6 separate regions of the Homo sapiens genome follow, and regions 1, 3, 4, 5 and 6 are each linked to region 2. The links are contacts of gene promoters, found by promoter capture Hi-C in blood cells and fetal thymus (Javierre and others, 2016). All regions are on one chromosome and are shown on one strand. Each heading gives the region's core, a stretch centred on a gene start or on the middle of the fragment in contact. The rest is flanking DNA. Distances are from core to core; before and after follow the strand shown.

Evidence for each region. Contacts are between HindIII fragments. The CHiCAGO score rates a contact against its expected background, and 5 or more counts as called.
Region 1: the fragment with the promoter of CEACAM4 here is called in contact with the fragment with the promoter of CYP2B6 in region 2 in 5 of 17 cell types (total B cells, naive B cells, activated CD4 T cells and 2 more); the score reaches 12.1 in total B cells.
Region 3: a contact is called between the fragment with the promoter of TTC9B here and the fragment with the promoter of CYP2B6 in region 2, in 5 of 17 cell types (erythroblasts, total B cells, naive B cells and 2 more). The highest score is 7.3, in erythroblasts.
Region 4: the fragment with the promoter of HIPK4 here is called in contact with the fragment with the promoter of CYP2B6 in region 2 in 6 of 17 cell types (naive B cells, neutrophils, total CD4 T cells and 3 more); the score reaches 9.0 in naive B cells.
Region 5: a contact is called between the fragment with the promoter of CEACAM7 here and the fragment with the promoter of CYP2B6 in region 2, in 8 of 17 cell types (total B cells, neutrophils, activated CD4 T cells and 5 more). The highest score is 12.1, in total B cells.
Region 6: the fragment with the promoter of CEACAM5 here is called in contact with the fragment with the promoter of CYP2B6 in region 2 in 13 of 17 cell types (activated CD4 T cells, naive CD8 T cells, monocytes and 10 more); the score reaches 12.6 in activated CD4 T cells.

What each region holds. Positions count from the first base shown.
Region 1 is chr19:41,625,824-41,628,523 of GRCh38, reverse strand. It overlaps CEACAM4 (CEA cell adhesion molecule 4), which reads left to right and starts at 1,450. Exons shown (of 7, transcript NM_001817.4): 1 at 1,450-1,624; 2 at 2,564-2,700. The coding sequence starts at 1,561. The HindIII fragment of the contact is 7,709 bases long and covers 1-2,700 here.
Region 2 is chr19:40,990,028-40,992,822 of GRCh38, reverse strand. It overlaps CYP2B6 (cytochrome P450 family 2 subfamily B member 6), which reads right to left and starts at 1,541. Exons shown (of 9, transcript NM_000767.5): 1 at 1,347-1,541. The coding sequence starts at 1,517. RefSeq lists a cis regulatory region at 1,776-1,799 and promoters at 1,536-2,795, 1,502-2,795. The HindIII fragment of the contact is 6,148 bases long and covers 1,288-2,795 here.
Region 3 is chr19:40,217,022-40,219,721 of GRCh38, reverse strand. TTC9B (tetratricopeptide repeat domain 9B) reads left to right here and starts at 1,338. Exons shown (of 3, transcript NM_152479.6): 1 at 1,338-1,767; 2 at 2,353-2,535. The coding sequence starts at 1,341. RefSeq lists enhancers at 1-301, 1,880-2,470. The HindIII fragment of the contact is 9,686 bases long and covers 955-2,700 here.
Region 4 is chr19:40,388,770-40,391,469 of GRCh38, reverse strand. It overlaps HIPK4 (homeodomain interacting protein kinase 4), which reads left to right and starts at 1,289. Exons shown (of 4, transcript NM_144685.5): 1 at 1,289-2,032. The coding sequence starts at 1,568. RefSeq lists enhancers at 837-1,386, 1,387-1,936. The HindIII fragment of the contact is 16,517 bases long and covers 1-2,700 here.
Region 5 is chr19:41,686,821-41,689,520 of GRCh38, reverse strand. It overlaps CEACAM7 (CEA cell adhesion molecule 7), which reads left to right and starts at 1,251. Exons shown (of 5, transcript NM_001291485.2): 1 at 1,251-1,419; 2 at 2,300-2,662. The coding sequence starts at 1,356. The HindIII fragment of the contact is 5,666 bases long and covers 1,096-2,700 here.
Region 6 is chr19:41,707,109-41,709,875 of GRCh38, reverse strand. It overlaps CEACAM5 (CEA cell adhesion molecule 5), which reads right to left and starts at 1,250. Exons shown (of 10, transcript NM_004363.6): 1 at 1,081-1,250; 2 at 1-196. The coding sequence starts at 1,144. The HindIII fragment of the contact is 18,236 bases long and covers 1-2,767 here.

The DNA of each region.
Region 1 (2,700 bases), core at 201-2,700, 640 kb before region 2:
CCCAGCTCCTGGGCCCTGTGGAGAGGCCTGGGGCAGGTGACAGACAGGGACACAGATGACCTGGAGGCGGAACTCCCAGTGTTGTGATGGAGGAACACAGAACACACCGAGGACCACCTCCCAGGCCAGTGCCCTCTCTCTAAACCCCCAGAGACACCTCCCTGGGCCCTTCTTTTGAAACCTTGGGGACGGATGGCTCTTTCTGAGGCAGCCCATCCGCCTGCAGGACAGTTCTCCCAAATCAGGACCAGGAGTGCTCTGGACAACTCTCGTCCTCTCCCTGAGCTCATCCTGCACTGCATGGAGTTGGACATCCTGGGGACCCACAGTGAACAGGACCAAGGATGACCTGACCCTGCAGTCTGGAGGTCAGAGCCCACCTCTGCCCAGGGGCCAGGGCCAACTCATACCACGTGGACCCTGGTCAGCATCCCTGGGGAAGCCCCTGACTTTTACCACAGGGTTCCTCTTGCTCTCCAGGGGCAACATTGCACGCAGACAACACAGGAAATGGATTCCCCTGGACAGGAATCTGGCTTTGCTAAGGAGGTGGAGGTGAAGCCTGGTTTCCATACTTTGCTCCAGCAGGCCCTTCCAGTCCCTCCCATGTGCCTGCTCTGTCTCTCCTGATCCTTCCTGGAGCCTCTGAGGATCCTGCTCTGCCAGGATTCTCTGCTCAGTTCTCCACTTTCTCCTGGTATCATGCATGGGGAAGGTACAGTGACAACAGGACAATCACCTTCACAGAGGACAGAGGCCACCCGGGATGGTAAGGGAGAACATGCACAGGCCCTAAGCCACAGCTCAGCCAACAGAAACGGAGAGGGAGGATCTCCCTGAATCCCTCCTCAAGGACAGCAGAACCCAGAGCCACCCACCTCCCTCCACCACAGTCCTCTCTTCCCAGGACATGCAGGACACCTCCCTCCACATCCAGGAGCTGGGGATCCTCCTGAGACCCCCAGGCCTGGATCTCTGTCCCTGGGTCAGAGGCAAGGCTGGTGACACTGGAGAGAGAGGACTGGTCCCCCCCGTAGTCGCCCCCCATTTTCTATCCCACAGAGCCACCTCTGTCACCTTCCTGCTGGGTATCATCTCACACTCCCTGAGTATTGGGGAGCATGAGGAGACCTGGGGGCCCAGCTGGGTCTCTGTGTCACAAAAGGAAACAGTTCCCCAAGTTTGGGAGACCCCAGAGTACCTCTGTTTGTGGTGACATTCCCAAAGGGTCAGTGCAGGGGTGACAAGTCACCCTCTCTGGGGACAGGGGACTCCACCAACCCTGCTTCTCAAAGTGTGGTTAGGAAACTGTAATGTACACAGAAGAGAAAGGGGAAGGAGGGACAAAAAAGGCAGAAATGAGAGGGGAGGGGCAGAGGGGTGACCTGGGAAGAGCCCCGCCTCTGCCCCTGGCCCTGGGAAGTGCTTCTGCCCGGGAGGAGGCTCAGCACAGAAGGAGGAAGGTCAGCAGCCCCGACAGCCGACAGTCACAGCAGCTCTGACAAGAGCGTTCCTGGAGCCCAGCTCCTCTCCACAGAGGACAAGCAGGCAGCAGAGACCATGGGCCCCCCCTCAGCCGCTCCCCGTGGAGGGCACAGGCCCTGGCAGGGGCTCCTGATCACAGGTGAGGGGAGGACTCTCTGGGAGTGGTGGGAAGAGGGAGCACAGAGACTGACTGGGGTCTCTTGGGTAGGAGGGGATAGAGGGCTTCTGGCTGGGGTCTCCTGGGGCTCTGAGAGGGGACTGAGGGCCTCTGTTGGAGGCTGGATAAGGGAGAGAACATCAGAGAGGGGCAGGGGTCACAACAGGAAAATCTCAGTGAACTGGAATTGGTAAAAGGCAGGAAAATCTCAAGTGTTCTCTCGTCCTGGTTAATCATCACTGGCCACTACATTTTGAAAAATGATAATAACTATACCAGATGACACTTCAAATAAAAACATAACCAGGGCATAAAACACTGCTCTTAGCCAACAACCTCAGACACTGGGAAATAAACCTCAGGACTTGGAGGCCCTGAGAATGCTCATGAACTCATCTACAGGAGTCTGCAGCCTGTGCCAGGCACTGGGGTGCAACCAAGATCACACAAGTCCCCGCCCTCACAGAGCTCACGCTCTCATGGGGAGGAAGACAAACACCTAAAGAGATCTAGAATGTGAGGTCAGGTGCTGACAAGAGCCCTGGAGGGAACAGAGCTGGGAAAGGTCAGAAAGGGAAGACCCAGGGTCTCTAGAGGAGGTGTCAGGGGAGGGGTCTCCCAAAAACACCCTGATGTGAGCAGGATCTGAGGGCAGTGGGGAGGGAGCCGTGCAGACCCCTGGGGAAGAAGATTCCACCAGGGAAATGCCAAGGTCCAAGCTGTTGAAGGAATGGGGGTCATGCTGCTGACCCAGGGACACACACACACACACACACACACACACACACACACACACACACACACACACACACACACACTCCAAGGCTGAGGGATGAGGAGACCTGCTGAGGACCCAGGGCCTTATCTTTCCATCCCACTCCATAGGTCCCAGTATTGACTGATGCTGTCTTCACCTCCTAGCCTCACTTTTAACCTTCTGGCACCCGCCCACCACTGTCCAGTTCACTATTGAAGCCCTGCCGTCCAGTGCTGCAGAGGGAAAGGATGTTCTTCTACTGGCCTGCAATATTTCAGAAACTATTCAAGCCTATTATTGG
Region 2 (2,795 bases), core at 292-2,791:
CTTGGCCGGGTGCGGTGGCTCACACATGTAATCCTAGCACTTTGGGAGGCCGAGGCAGGTGGATTGCTTGAGCCCAGGAGTTTAAGACCAGTCTGGGCAACATGGCAAAACCCTGTCTCTACAAAAAATACAAAAATTAGCTGGGCGTGGTGGCATGCACCTGTAGTTCCAGCTACTTGGGGGGCTGAGGCAGGAGGATCACTTGAGCCTTGGGAGGTCAAGGCTGCAGTGAGACGTGATCATGCCACAGCACTTCAGCCTGGCTGACAGAGTGAGGCCCTGTCTCAGAAAAAAAAAGAGTCTTAAATGCTCATATGCAGCCATTCTTTGTACATCCAGTGGGCTCATTACAGTGGGAACAACAAAAACATGAAGAAAAGGTAAAGAATCACTCAACTACGTTGACATTGTCCATTGTGAATTCCATACTGAGAGCAGACAAGTCCATTATGATGGTGACAGAAGTAATGTTGATGCCCAAGGTTTTGGTCAATCTCAAAATTTTGAGGCTGACCAAAAGGGGAGAATTGTTTAATTAAATTAAATTTGACCTAAAGCTCTCTCTGTAGAGTGAACTGCAACCTAACTTGGGAGTATATTCTTTTTTTTTTTTTTTTTTTTGAGAAGGAGTCTCACTCTGTCACCCAGGATGGAGTGCAGTGGTAAGATTTTGGCTCACTGCAACCTCTGCCTCCTGGATTCAAGTGATTCTCCTTCCTCAGCCTCCTGGGTAGCTGAGATTACAGGCACGCATCACTATGCCCAGCTAATATTTGTATTTTTAGTAGAGACAAGGTTTCACCATGTTGGCCAGGCTGGTCTCGAACTCCTGACCTCAGGTGATCCACCACCTCGGCCTCCAAAAGCACTGGGATTACAGGCATGAGCCACTGCACCTGGCCCAAATGAATATATTCTTGTGACAAGTAGCCAAGTGTTGGCTAATCAGAGCAGCTGGGCTTTCAGTCCACACAGGCTGCAAACTGCTCAGATTGTGACCAAGTAAGGCAAGCTGTGATCTGTGGCCAATCAGGCTGTTTCTGTATGTCACCTCCTTTTTCTGCCTGTAAATACCACTTGACCATACTGCCGTGTGGTGTCTTTCCTGGTTTAGGGAGCTGTCCAACTCATGAGTCACTTCTTTGCTCAAATAAACTCTGCTAAATTTAATTTGATGCTTTTCTCCTAATAATACCACCCATCATGCTTCACCATGCTCCGTACTCACCAACCATGCCCGTGCCACCCCTGACTCTGGAAGTCTGCCTCATTCTGTTTGGTGAAGCTTCCCCAAGTACCAAGGCAAGAAGCAGCTCACCCTCAGACCCCATTCGTCTGTGTCTTACCCTCAGAAAGGATTTGAGTAGGCCTCTTCTATCCATCTGCAGAAGGTTTCCCAAAAGGGGCAGAGGGCGGGGCCCTGGTGGGAGGCGGTCATGGGTGTTAGGGTGGCGCTGAACCAGGAGTAGCAAGAGTCCTGTGAGGAGTGCAAGGAAGAGGAGGACGCTGAGTTCCATGGTCCTGGTCTGACTGCCCTGCACCCTGCTGCAGCCTCCAACTGGGCCTTTTATCCTGACCCTGCCTCTGCACCCTGTTATAAAATTTCATCCATTCCCCACCTCCTTTTTCATCATCATCCAGGAGCATTAGCTTAGAAAAAGTTGTTAGGGAACCCAGACTTCCTGCTTGGGCAACCCAGTGACCTGATGCCTATCCCTTTACCCACTCTGTAGATATTGGCAGGGATACAGTGGTAGAGATATCAAAGTCCAGGTGAGCAAGTGAATGTGTGGGTGTGTGGGTTTGTGGGTATATGTATGTCTATTTTTGTAAGCATAGGTGAGCTTGCACTTTTTTACTTAGCTTTGTCTGTTTGTCTGTGCTTGCATGCATTTGTCCATGCCTGCTTGCATCCCTGTATGTGCTTATATGATTTTTACATGTAAAGGGGTGTTTGAATTTATGCAAATGTACTGGCGTATATTTCTGTGGTTGAATCTGGGGGTGCTTATGTGTGTATCCTTGCATGTGTATGAGCTTCCTTGTATTTATACAGTTTTATATACGAAAGTGCATTTACATTTGTGTGTTGTGGAGGTGGTGGTAGTGCATGTTCAAAACTGAGAGGCTGGCTGGGTGCGGTGGCTCACACCTGTAATCCCAGCACGTTGGGAAGCTGAGGGGGGCAGATCAATTGAGGTCAAGAGTTCGAGACCATCCTGGCCCACATGGCAAAACCCCATCTGTACTAAAAACACAAAAATTAACCGGGCGTGATGGTGGGTACTTTTAATCCCAGCTACTCGGGAGGCTGAGGCAAGAGAATCACTTGAACCTGGGAGGTGGAGGCTGCAGTGAGCCAAGATTACACCACTGCACTCCAGCCTGGGTGACACAGCAATACTCCATCTCAAAAAAAAAAAAAAAAAAAAAAAAAGGAGAAGCTGATGAAAATAAGGAATTATTCAATTCAATCAAATTTGGCCTACTGCCTTTGTAGCATAGCAAACTGTAACCTAGCAATACATGAACCAATTGTGTGTATCTGTGTGTGCTGGTGTATTTGTGCTGGTGTGTTGGTGGATCTCCTAGCCCCTCTCTTTGGAAGCCTGCAGATGCTGAGTCTATCTCCAGTGTCCCCTCCTTCATCCGCCCTTCTGTGACAGCCACAGGTGGAAGTGGTCGGAGAAACAGAAGGAGGAGCAAGAGATGCAGAACTGGTGAGTCTCAGAGGAAGAGGTGGTCAGTTGGAAGGAGACAGAAACTGAGACCTGGCAGGTACAGCGATCAGGTCC
Region 3 (2,700 bases), core at 89-2,588, 770 kb after region 2:
GCCCTCTCACTTGTTTTCCCCCATAGACAGCCGAGCTGGATGAGGGCAAGAAGGAGATCTCTCTTGTTTTTAGAGTTATTCCCTCCTCCAGGAAGACTTTATCACCACCTCAGCCCAGGGCAGGTACCTCCCACATCCCAGCCCCGACCCCTCTGCCTGTGCCTCTTCCACCTCGGCCCCGACCCCTCTGCCTGTGCTTCCCAGGCTAGCCTGCTCAGGGCTGTCACTGTCTGGTCACTGGTCTGTCTTCCCACTGAACTGGGGCCCAGTGAGAGTAGGGTCTGAAGCTCACGCAGTGTCTGCTATGTCCCAGCATCATCCAGCACAGAGCTGGGCACAGAAAGGATGTCAGTGAATATTTGTTTCATAAATTAACAGATGAATCCCAAAGGTGGTATTATTTTTAATTCCTTTCCTTTCCTTTTTTCTCTTTCCTCTTTCCCCTTTCCCCTTTCCTTTCCTTTCCTTTCCTTTCCTTTCCTTTCCTTTCCTTTCCTTTCCTTTCCTTTCCTTTCCTTTTTTGAGACGGCATCTCCCTCTGTCACCCAGGCTGGAGTGCAGTGGCACAATCTCGGCTCACTGCAACCTCTGCCTCCCAGGTTCAAGTGATTCTCCTGCCTCAGTCTCCCGAGTAGCTGGGACTACAGGTGCACGCCACCACACCAGGCTAATTTTTGTGTATATATACAAAAATTTTGTATATATTGTATATTAGTAGAGACGGAGTTTTGCCATATTGGCCAGGCTGGTCTCAAACTTCTGACCTCAAGCGATCCATCCACCTCGACCTCCCAAAGTGCTGGGATTACAGGCGTGAGCCACCTCGACTGGCCCTAAAGGTGATATTATTGTGCCATGTTACTGATGAGGATACAGAGTTCCAGGTAGTTTAAGCGAGCTGTCTAAGTCATACCACTAGTGAGAAAGTAAGCAGGGATTTGAATTTGGGAAGCTTGGGTCCAAATCCTGTGTTCTCATTCGATATGCCAAATGGCCAGTGGGCTGAGAGCCAGCTTTCCGTGAGGCTGATGTCTTCCTGCTCTTTCCCCCAGGCTCGTCCTTTCCTTCTAGAAATCTTCGGGAGCTTTGGGCACCGGGGAGGAGAGCAGGCAGGAGGTTGGGGAGGGTAAGGGGAATGGGAACAATTCGGGGGGCGGGCTGGAGAACTAGGACTTGGTTAATTTGAGAGTGAGCATGGGGGAAGTCTCGAGGGGTTTCCCTAGACCCATAGGGGGCAGCCGGAGTCGGCTGCCGGAGGTGAGGGGGCGGAGAAAGGGTGGGGACCAGCCCCGCGGGGGGCGATGCGGTAGCTGCAGCGGCGGCGGCAGGAGTTTCCCACAATGCAGCGCGGCGCGCTGTCCCCGGTGCTGATGCTCAGCGCTGCCCCGGAGCCTCCGCCGCGCCCGCCTCCCGCCCTCTCCCCACCGGGCTCGGGCCCAGGCTCGGGCTCCCGCCATGGCTCGGCTCGTCCCGGTCCTACCCCAGAGCCGTCGGGGAGCCTGGGCGCGGCGCTCGACAGCAGCCTGCGTGCCGCCGTGGCGTTCAAGGCAGAGGGCCAGCGCTGCTATCGAGAGAAGAAGTTCCGGGAGGCCATCGGCAAGTACCACCGAGCGCTGCTGCAGCTGAAGGCGGCGCAGGGGGCCCGCCCTAGCGGCCTGCCCGCCCCCGCCCCCGGGCCCACCAGCAGCCCCGGGCCGGCGCGCCTCAGCGAGGAGCAGCGGCGCCTGGTGGAGAGCACGGAGGTGGAGTGTTACGACTCCCTCACGGGTACGCCGTCGGGGGGTGGGGGGATGGGGCACGAGGGGAGGGGGCAATCGGGAGAGCTTGGCGACTTGGGGGCCAGGGGCCCTGGGGCTGAAGGGTCCAGGGCTGTGGGCTTCTGGGGGAGCCTTCAGAGCTTGATCAAGGAAAGGGATTAGGGGTAGGGGATGACAGGGGTCTGTGGCTGGAGGGAGCTGGGATGCAGGAAATGGTCTTTGGGTCGGGTATTCAGGGCCTCGCTTCCCCTGAGTCATTCTTTCCACCCCCTGGCCGCACGTGGACCCAAGGTGAGGAAGTCTGCCCTGAGCCAGGCTCTCGAGGTCCCGGCCCTCGCCCCCGCGCGGGGCCTTAGTGCTCTTGCCCACCGACAGCTCTGGGTGGATCGCCCAGTGGCGCCTGTCCGTGTTTTGGCGCCCCCTAGCAGCGGCGCAGTTGCGCCTGTTTCGATAGGCGAGCGGATTGGCGCCCCTGGTTGCCGGAGCAATCCCTTAGGCCTGGTTCCCTGCCGCCTGGAGCCTCGGCTCCTCGCAGTCAGGTGGGTTCTGGGGGTGCCAGCAGGCTCTGAGAGTGCCGGCCGCGGGGCCCTCGCAGCTTGCCTGCTGCAGTCGGAGCTGGTAAACTACGAGCGCGTGCGCGAGTACTGTCTCAAGGTACTGGAGAAGCAGCAGGGCAACTTCAAGGCCACCTACCGTGCCGGCATTGCCTTCTACCACCTGGGCGACTACGCACGCGCGCTGCGCTACCTGCAGGAGGCCCGCAGCCGGGAACCCACAGGTGAGTGGCGGGGCGGGGCAGAGGTGAGGGCTGGGCCCAGGGCGGGGAAAGGGGCTGCAGCGGAGGGAACAGGCAGGAAGATCAGGGCAGAATAGCAGAGCCCTCCTCCCGCGGAGCTGCTTCTAGGTAGGGCTGCGCCACCCACCTACTCCCTACACGCCCACT
Region 4 (2,700 bases), core at 40-2,539, 600 kb after region 2:
TGTATTTTTAGTAGAGACGGGGTTTCTCCATGTTGGTCAGGCTGGTCTCGAACTCCCGACCTCAGGTGATCCACCTGCCTCAGCCTCCCAAAGTGCTGGGATTACAGGCATGAGCCACCGAGCCCGGCCCGCTGTTAAATATTCTAATCTGGCTGGAGTGGTGGCTCATGTCTACAATCCCAGCACTTTGGAAGGTTGAGGCAGGAGGATCACTTGAGGCCAGGAGGATCACTTGAGACCAGCCTGGACAACATAGTGAGACCCCATTTCTACAAAAAATTAAAAAGATAAATAAAAATGAACACTTTTTTTTTTTTTTTGAGATGGAGTCTCGCTCTGTCACCCAGGCTGGAGTGCAGTGGTGCAATCTCGGCTCACTGCAACCTCCACCTCCCGGGTTCAAGCTATTCTTCTGCCTTAGCCTCCCGAGTAGCTGGGACTACAGGCGCCCTCCACTATGCCTGGCTAATTTTTAGTATTTTTAGTAGAGACAGAGTTTCACCGTGTTAGCCAGGATGGTCTCGATCTCCTGACCTTATGATCTGCCTTCCTTGGCCTCCCAAAGTGCTGGGATTACAGGCGTGACCCACCGCACCCAGCCAAAAATAAATACATTTTCTAATTTGGCCTCAACATCTCCCCCAAGCTGCTTCTTATCCATGTCCATTTCTCGGGGACTGCCCCTTCATCCCAGAGCCCTAGGCCCGTTCTTAGACAGCTCCCGCCTTTCCCTCAAACCGTCGGTCTCACGGCTGCTTCTCCTGGCCTTTTGAGTGTCTCATCCATTGGCCTCGCCCTCTCCTCCCCAACCTCTCCCATCTGTGCCCTGTCCTGGACTCTTTCCCTGGCTTGGGGCTTCCACTCTTACCCGCTCCAACCTATCCCTTTTCATACAGTAACTTTCTGACACTCATATCTGACCCTGCCCTCCCCTGCTCAAAGCCCTTCTGTGGCTCCCCAGTGCCCTCAGAACAGAATCCAAACTCCTTAGCCTGGCATTCAGGGCCTTTTACAACCTCACCCCACAGTAGCCACAGACTGGGACAGGAGTTTTCTGAACACAGACACACACACATCACATCTCCCAAGCTCAAGAAGCCCACCTTTCCTCACTCCTGCCTTATCCCCATTCCTGTATGCCCAAGGCCCACGATTAGACCCCCCTCTGTCAACACTTCACCTGTTTGGTCTTTGCAAGATTCCGCCACTGGGCGGGGGAGGGGGCCCAGCCTGGTACCCCACCCCCACTCCAGCCAGGGCTCAGGTCTCCAACAACAGAACCAGAGCCACTCAACAGCGCTGGAACCCATTCGGTGGGGCCTGGGGCCCCTCATCCCAAGCCAGGAGGGTTTCTGGGGAGGGGTGCAGCCCCTGGCAGACTGACAGTGTGGCCTGGGGGTTTGGGGGTGCCAGGGAAGCAGGGGCCAACCTCATAGGAGGAGACACGAGTGCGGTTCTCTTTCCCCCACTGGGGGGCCTGCTGTGTCAGCAGCCAGGCGGGAGGCCTGGGCGGCAGAGCCAGTGGTACAGGGGCCTGGGCAGGGCGGTGTCTGGCAGCAGCGGCACCATGTCCACCATCCAGTCGGAGACTGACTGCTACGACATCATCGAGGTCTTGGGCAAGGGGACCTTCGGGGAGGTAGCCAAGGGCTGGCGGCGGAGCACGGGCGAGATGGTGGCCATCAAGATCCTCAAGAATGACGCCTACCGCAACCGCATCATCAAGAACGAGCTGAAGCTGCTGCACTGCATGCGAGGCCTAGACCCTGAAGAGGCCCACGTCATCCGCTTCCTTGAGTTCTTCCATGACGCCCTCAAGTTCTACCTGGTCTTTGAGCTGCTGGAGCAAAACCTTTTCGAGTTCCAGAAGGAGAACAACTTCGCGCCCCTCCCCGCCCGCCACATCCGTACAGTCACCCTGCAGGTGCTCACAGCCCTGGCCCGGCTCAAGGAGCTGGCTATCATCCACGCTGATCTCAAGCCTGAGAACATCATGCTGGTGGACCAGACCCGCTGCCCCTTCAGGGTCAAGGTGAGTAGGGGTCGTCTAGGGTGGCTGCGTCCCTAGTTCCTTGTCTTTTTCCCAGCTTCTTCCAGCCCTAGATTTTTTTTTTAATTTTTTAAAATTATTATTATTATTATTTTTGAGACGGAGTTTCATTCTGTTACCCAGGCTTGAGTGCAGTGGCACAATCTCAGCTCACTGCAACTCCGCCTCCTGGGTTCAAGTGATTATCCTGCCTCAGCCTCCCGAGTTGCTGGGATTACAGGGATGCGCCACCACGCCCAGCTAATTTTTTTTTTGTACTTATCAGAGACGGGGTGATGATGGCATGATCTTGGTTCACTGCCTCCGCCTCCCGGGTTCAAGCGATTCTCCTGCCTCAGCCTCCTGAGTAGCTGGGAATACAGGTGCCCGCCACCCATGCCCGGCTAATTTTTGTATTTTTAGTAGAGATGGAGTTTCGCCATGTTGGCCAGGCTGGTCTCAAACTCCTGACCTTGTGATCCACCTGCCTCAGCCTCCCAAAGTGCTGGGATTACAGGCGTGAGCCACCACGCCCAGCCAATTTTTGTGTTTTTTGGTAGAAACAGGATTTCATCATGTTGCCCAGGCTGGTCTCAAAGTCCTGAGTTCAAGCAATCTGCCCACCTTGGCCTCAACAAAGTGCTGGAATTACAAGTGTGAGCCACCATGCC
Region 5 (2,700 bases), core at 2-2,501, 700 kb before region 2:
GGGAGGCTGAGGTGGGTGGATCATTTGAAGTCAGGAGTCTGAGACCAGCCTGGCCAACATGGTGAAACCCCGCCTCTACTAAAAATACAAAAATTAACCAGGCGTGGTGGCGGGTGCCTATAGTCCCAGCTACTTGGGAGGCTGAGGCAGGAGAATCACTTGAACCCGGGAGGTGGAGGTTGTAGTGAGCTGAGATCGTGCCACTGCACTCTAGCATGGGCAACAGAGTGAGACTCTGTCTCAGGAAAAAAAAAAAAGCAAAAAACAAACAAACAAAAAACAAAAAACAAAAATCAAACAAACAAACAAACAAACAAAAAAACATCGACATGTAAGTGGACCTGTGTGTTCAAATCTGTGTGTTCGAAGGTCAGCTGTAATTCCCCTGGACATGAACTTGGCCTTGCTAAGGTGGTGAAGGTGGAGCCTGGTTTCCATTCCTTGCTCCAACAGACCCTTCTTGTCTTTCACGCGTTCCTGCTGTGTCCCACCTCTTCCTTCCTGGGGCCTTTGAAGACCCCGCTCTGCCAGGGGTTTCTGTGCAGCTCCCCATTCCCTCCTGGCACCACCCATGGGGAAGGCGGGGTGACCACAGGACTGTCAGCCAGACAGAGGCTTCCAGGTCAGGTAGAACATGGAAAGGACCTGAGCCACAGCACATCCAAAAGACAGGGAGAGGGAGGGTTTCCTTGAAGCCTTCCCCAAGGACAGCAGAGCTCAGAGCCACACACCTCCCTCCACCACAGCTCTCTTCCCAGGACACACCAGACACCTCCCTCCACACCCAGGAGCTGTAGCTCCTCCTGAGACCCCTGGGCCTTGGTTTCTGTGCCTGGGTCACTGGAGACAGAGGGCTGGTCCCTCCCCAGTCATCCCCCAGTGAGCCCCTTTCTATCCCCCAGAGCCACCTCTGTCACCTTCCTGCTGGGCATCATCCCAGCAGAAACCCAAGGCCCAGCTGGGTTTCTCTGTCACAAGGGAAATAATCCCCCTGGTGTGACAGACCCAAGGCCAGAACACAGCATAGGTCAGCACTGGGAAAGGTTGGTTGTCCTCCCAGGGGACAGGGGTCCATCAGCCTTGCTACTCAAAGCTTTGTATCGGGAACTGAATATAGACAAAAGGGAAAGAGGAAGAGGGACAAAAGAGGCAGGAATGAGAGGGGAGGGGACAGAGGACTCCTGAGCAGAGACCCCACCCCTGGACCATGTGATCTTGGAAAGTGCTCCTGCCCTGGGAGGAGGCTCAGCACAGAGGTAGGAAGGACAGCAGAGCTGACAGTCACAGCAGCCCTGACAAGAGAGTTCCTGGAGCCCAAGCTCTTCTCCACAGAGGACAAGCAGGCAGCAGAGACCATGGGGTCCCCTTCAGCCTGTCCATACAGAGTGTGCATTCCCTGGCAGGGGCTCCTGCTCACAGGTGAGGGGAGGACTTCCTGGGAGTGGGTGGGAGGAGGGCCAGAGAGACTGGCTGGGGTCTCCTTGGGAGGACGGGGCTCTGAGAGGGGACAAAGGGCTTCTGTTGAAGTCCTTTGGGAGAGGACACCAGACAGGGACAGGAAACCAGAACAGGAAAATCACATTGGACTGGAATTGGAAAGGGTCAAGAAAATCTCACATGTTCTCTTTTCCTGGTTAATCATCACTAGCTGCTACATTTTGAAATATGATAATAATAACTATATCATGTGACGCTTCAAATAAAAACATAACCAGGGCATAAAACATTGTCCCTAGCCACCAACCTCAGGCATTGGAAAATAAACCCCAGGATGTGGAGGGAGGGCCCTGGGAACTCTCATGAACTCATCTACTGGAGCCTGCAGCCTGTTCCAGGCACTGGGGTGCAATCCAGTTCACACAAGTCCCTGCCCTCACAGAGCTCACGCTCTCATGCGGCAGAAGACAGACAGGCAAAGAGATCTAGAATGTGAAGCCAGGTGTTGACAAGAGCTCTAAAGGGAACAGAGCAGGGAAATGTCAGAAACGGAACACCCAGGGCTTCTAGAGAAGGTGTCAGGGAAGGGGTCTCCCAAGGATGCCCTGATGTAAGCAGGTCCAGCAGTATGGAGGGAGCCCTGCAGATCCCTGGGGAAGAGGATTCCGAACAGGGAAATGTAAGGTCAGAGGTGCTGATAGGGGACATGCTGCTGACATTGATCCAGTAGGACACACACACACACACACACACTTACTTCAAGATGGGGGTGGGTGAAGAGACCTGCTCAGGATCCAGGGCCCCATCTTTCCACCCCAATACATAGGTCCCAATATTGACTGATGTTCTCTCCCCCTCCTAGCCTCGCTTTTAACCTTCTGGAACCTGCCAAACAGTGCCCAGACCAATATTGATGTCGTGCCGTTCAATGTCGCAGAAGGGAAGGAGGTCCTTCTAGTAGTCCATAATGAGTCCCAGAATCTTTATGGCTACAACTGGTACAAAGGGGAAAGGGTGCATGCCAACTATCGAATTATAGGATATGTAAAAAATATAAGTCAAGAAAATGCCCCAGGGCCCGCACACAACGGTCGAGAGACAATATACCCCAATGGAACCCTGCTGATCCAGAACGTCACCCACAATGACGCAGGAATCTATACCCTACACGTTATAAAAGAAAATCTTGTGAATGAAGAAGTAACCAGACAATTCTACGTATTCTGTGAGTGATACCTCCATGACTTCTGGGTGCTGGGGGCC
Region 6 (2,767 bases), core at 1-2,500, 720 kb before region 2:
TGAGTTCCTATTACATATCCTATAATTTGACGGTTGCCATCCACTCTTTCACCTTTGTACCAGCTGTAGCCAAAAAGATGCTGGGGCAGATTGTGGACAAGTAGAAGCACCTCCTTCCCCTCTGCGACATTGAACGGCGTGGATTCAATAGTGAGCTTGGCAGTGGTGGGCGGGTTCCAGAAGGTTAGAAGTGAGGCTAGGAGAGAGCAGAGAGCATCGGTCAATATTGGGACCTATGCATTAGGGTGGAAAAATGGGGTCCTGGGTCCTGAGCAGGTCTCTTCATCCCCCAGCCCTGGAGTGAGTGAGTGTGTGTGTGTGTGTGTGTGTGTGTGTGTCCTACTAGGTCAAGGTCAGCAGTGTGTCTCCTATTTCCTTAGCACCTCTGACCTTGGCATTTCCCTGTGTGGAATCTGCTTTTCCAGGGGTCTTCACGGCTCCCTCCCCATTGCCTTCAGGTCCTGCTCACATCAGGGCATTCTTGGGAGATCCCTTCCCTGACACCTCCTCTAGAGACCCTGGGTCTTCCTTTTCTGACCTTTCCCTGCTCTATTCCCTCCAGGGCTCTTGTCAACACCTGACCTCACATTCTAGATCTCTTTGTATGTCTGTCTTCCTCCCCATGAGAGCATGAGCTTCATGAGGGCAGGGATTTGTGTGATCTTGGTTGCACCCCAGTGCCTGGGACAGGCTGCAGATTCCTGTGGATGAGTTCATGAGGGTTCCCAGGGCCCTCCACAGCCTGGGGCTTATTTTCCAATGTCCGCGGTAGGCGGATGAGGACAGTGTTTCATGCCCTGGTTATGTTTTTATTTAAAGTGTCATCTGATGCAGTTATTATGATTTTTAAAAACGTAGTGGCCAGTGACAATTAACTAGGAAAATAGAACTCTTGAGGTTTTCCTGCCCCTTTCCAATTCCAGTTCAATTTGATTTTTCTGGTGTGACTCCTGTCCCTCTCTGATGTCCTCTTCCCTATTCAGGCTCCAACAGGAGCCCTCTGTCCGTCTCACAGCCCTGTCCTACCCAGGAGACCCCAGCTCCCTCCTCCCACCCTCTCCCAGGTTGTCCTCCCTTCACCTGTGAGCAGGAGCCTCTGCCAGGGGATGCACCATCTGTGGGGAGGGGCCGAGGGAGACTCCATGGTCTCTGCTGTCTGCTCTGTCCTCCTCTGTGGAGAAGAGCTTGAGTTCCAGGAACGTTTTGTCAAGGCTGCTGTGACTGTCTGGTCTGCTGTCCTTCCTCCCTCTGCCCTGAGTCTCTTCCTAGGGCAGGAGTACTTCTCAGCATCACGTGGGTCATGGGTGTGGTCTTTATTCAGGTGTCCTCTGTCCCCTCCCCTCTCATTTCTGCCTCTTTTGTCCCTCCTCTTTTTTCCCTTCTATTTTCAGTTCCTCAGACAAATCTTTTCGGCAAGGTGGATGGACCCCCATCCCCTGGGAGGACAACCTGTCTTCCCCAGTGCTGACCTCTGCTGTGTTCTGTCCTTGGGTCTGTCACACCAGGGGGATTATTTTCCTTTGTGACAGAGAAACCCAGCAGGGTCCCGGGTCTCCCCATGCTCTCCAGGGCTCTGGGAAGGTGGGATGATGCCCAACAGGAAGGTGACAGAGGTGGCTCTGGGGGCTAGAAAAAGGCTCACTGGGTGGTGGCTGGGGAGGGACCAGCCCTCTGTCTCCAGTACCACCAACCCCGCCACTGACCCAGGGATGGAGACCCAGGCCCAGAGGTCTCAGGAGTCCCCAGATCCTGCATGTGGAGGGGGAGGTGTCTTGTGTGTCCTGGAAAGAGAGGACTGTGGTGGAGGGAGGTGGGTGACTCTGGGCTCTGCTGTCCTTGGGGAAGGCTCCAGGGGGACCCTCCCTCTCCGTGTCTGTTGGCTGAGCTGCGGCTCAGGGCCTGTCCATGTTCTCCCTGACAGTCCTGGGTGGTCTCTGTCCTCTGCGAGGCTGACTGTCCTGTGATCACCCCACCTTCCCCATGGTGGTACCAGGAGGGAGTCTGGAGTTGCACAGGGACCCCTGGCAGAACAGGGTCCTCATAGGACCCAGAAAGGAACAGAGCAGGTATGTGGGAGAGATCAGAAGGGTCTGTTGGAGCAAGGGATGGAAACCAGGCTCCACCTCCACTTCCTTAGCAAAGCCAGGTTCCTGTCCAGGGGAATCCGTTTCCTGAGTGATGTCTGTGTGCAATGTCACCCCCTGGAGGGCAAGAGGAGACCTCCGGCCTTGTCTGGAACTGCCCTAGGGATGCTGACCAGGGTCGACGTGGTGTGAGCTGACCCTGAACTCTGGATTAGGCTGCAGGGTCAGGCCGGAGGATCTATTCCCTGCAGGCCTCTGTCCTCCCTTCTGAAGCTCTGGGGGTTGAGGCCTCATTCCTGGGGCAGCCGCGGGCACTTGCTGGCCTCCTCCCATGCTGGTGCCAGTGCCCCTGTGTCCACATGGAACAGACTCTGACTGCTGGGGGCCACACGGAGGTGATATGCTTCTTTTTAGAGATCTCCCACACATTTAACCAGTATTTATGGAGCATCTGTTCCGTGTCAGGCACTGGGCTGGGCCCTGGGATTCCACAGAGAGCAGGACAGACGTGGTCCCTGTCACAGAGTTTTCCTGTAACCGGGAGACAGGCGCTCAGTGAACTTCATGGGACTGAGGAGTTAATGGTAATGACAGGGCTGTGAGGTGACAGCATAGGGGGCGTCGGAGCCTGTGAGAGACTGAGCTGTCCTGGAGATCACAGGGAGCTGCCCTGGGAGACGCCC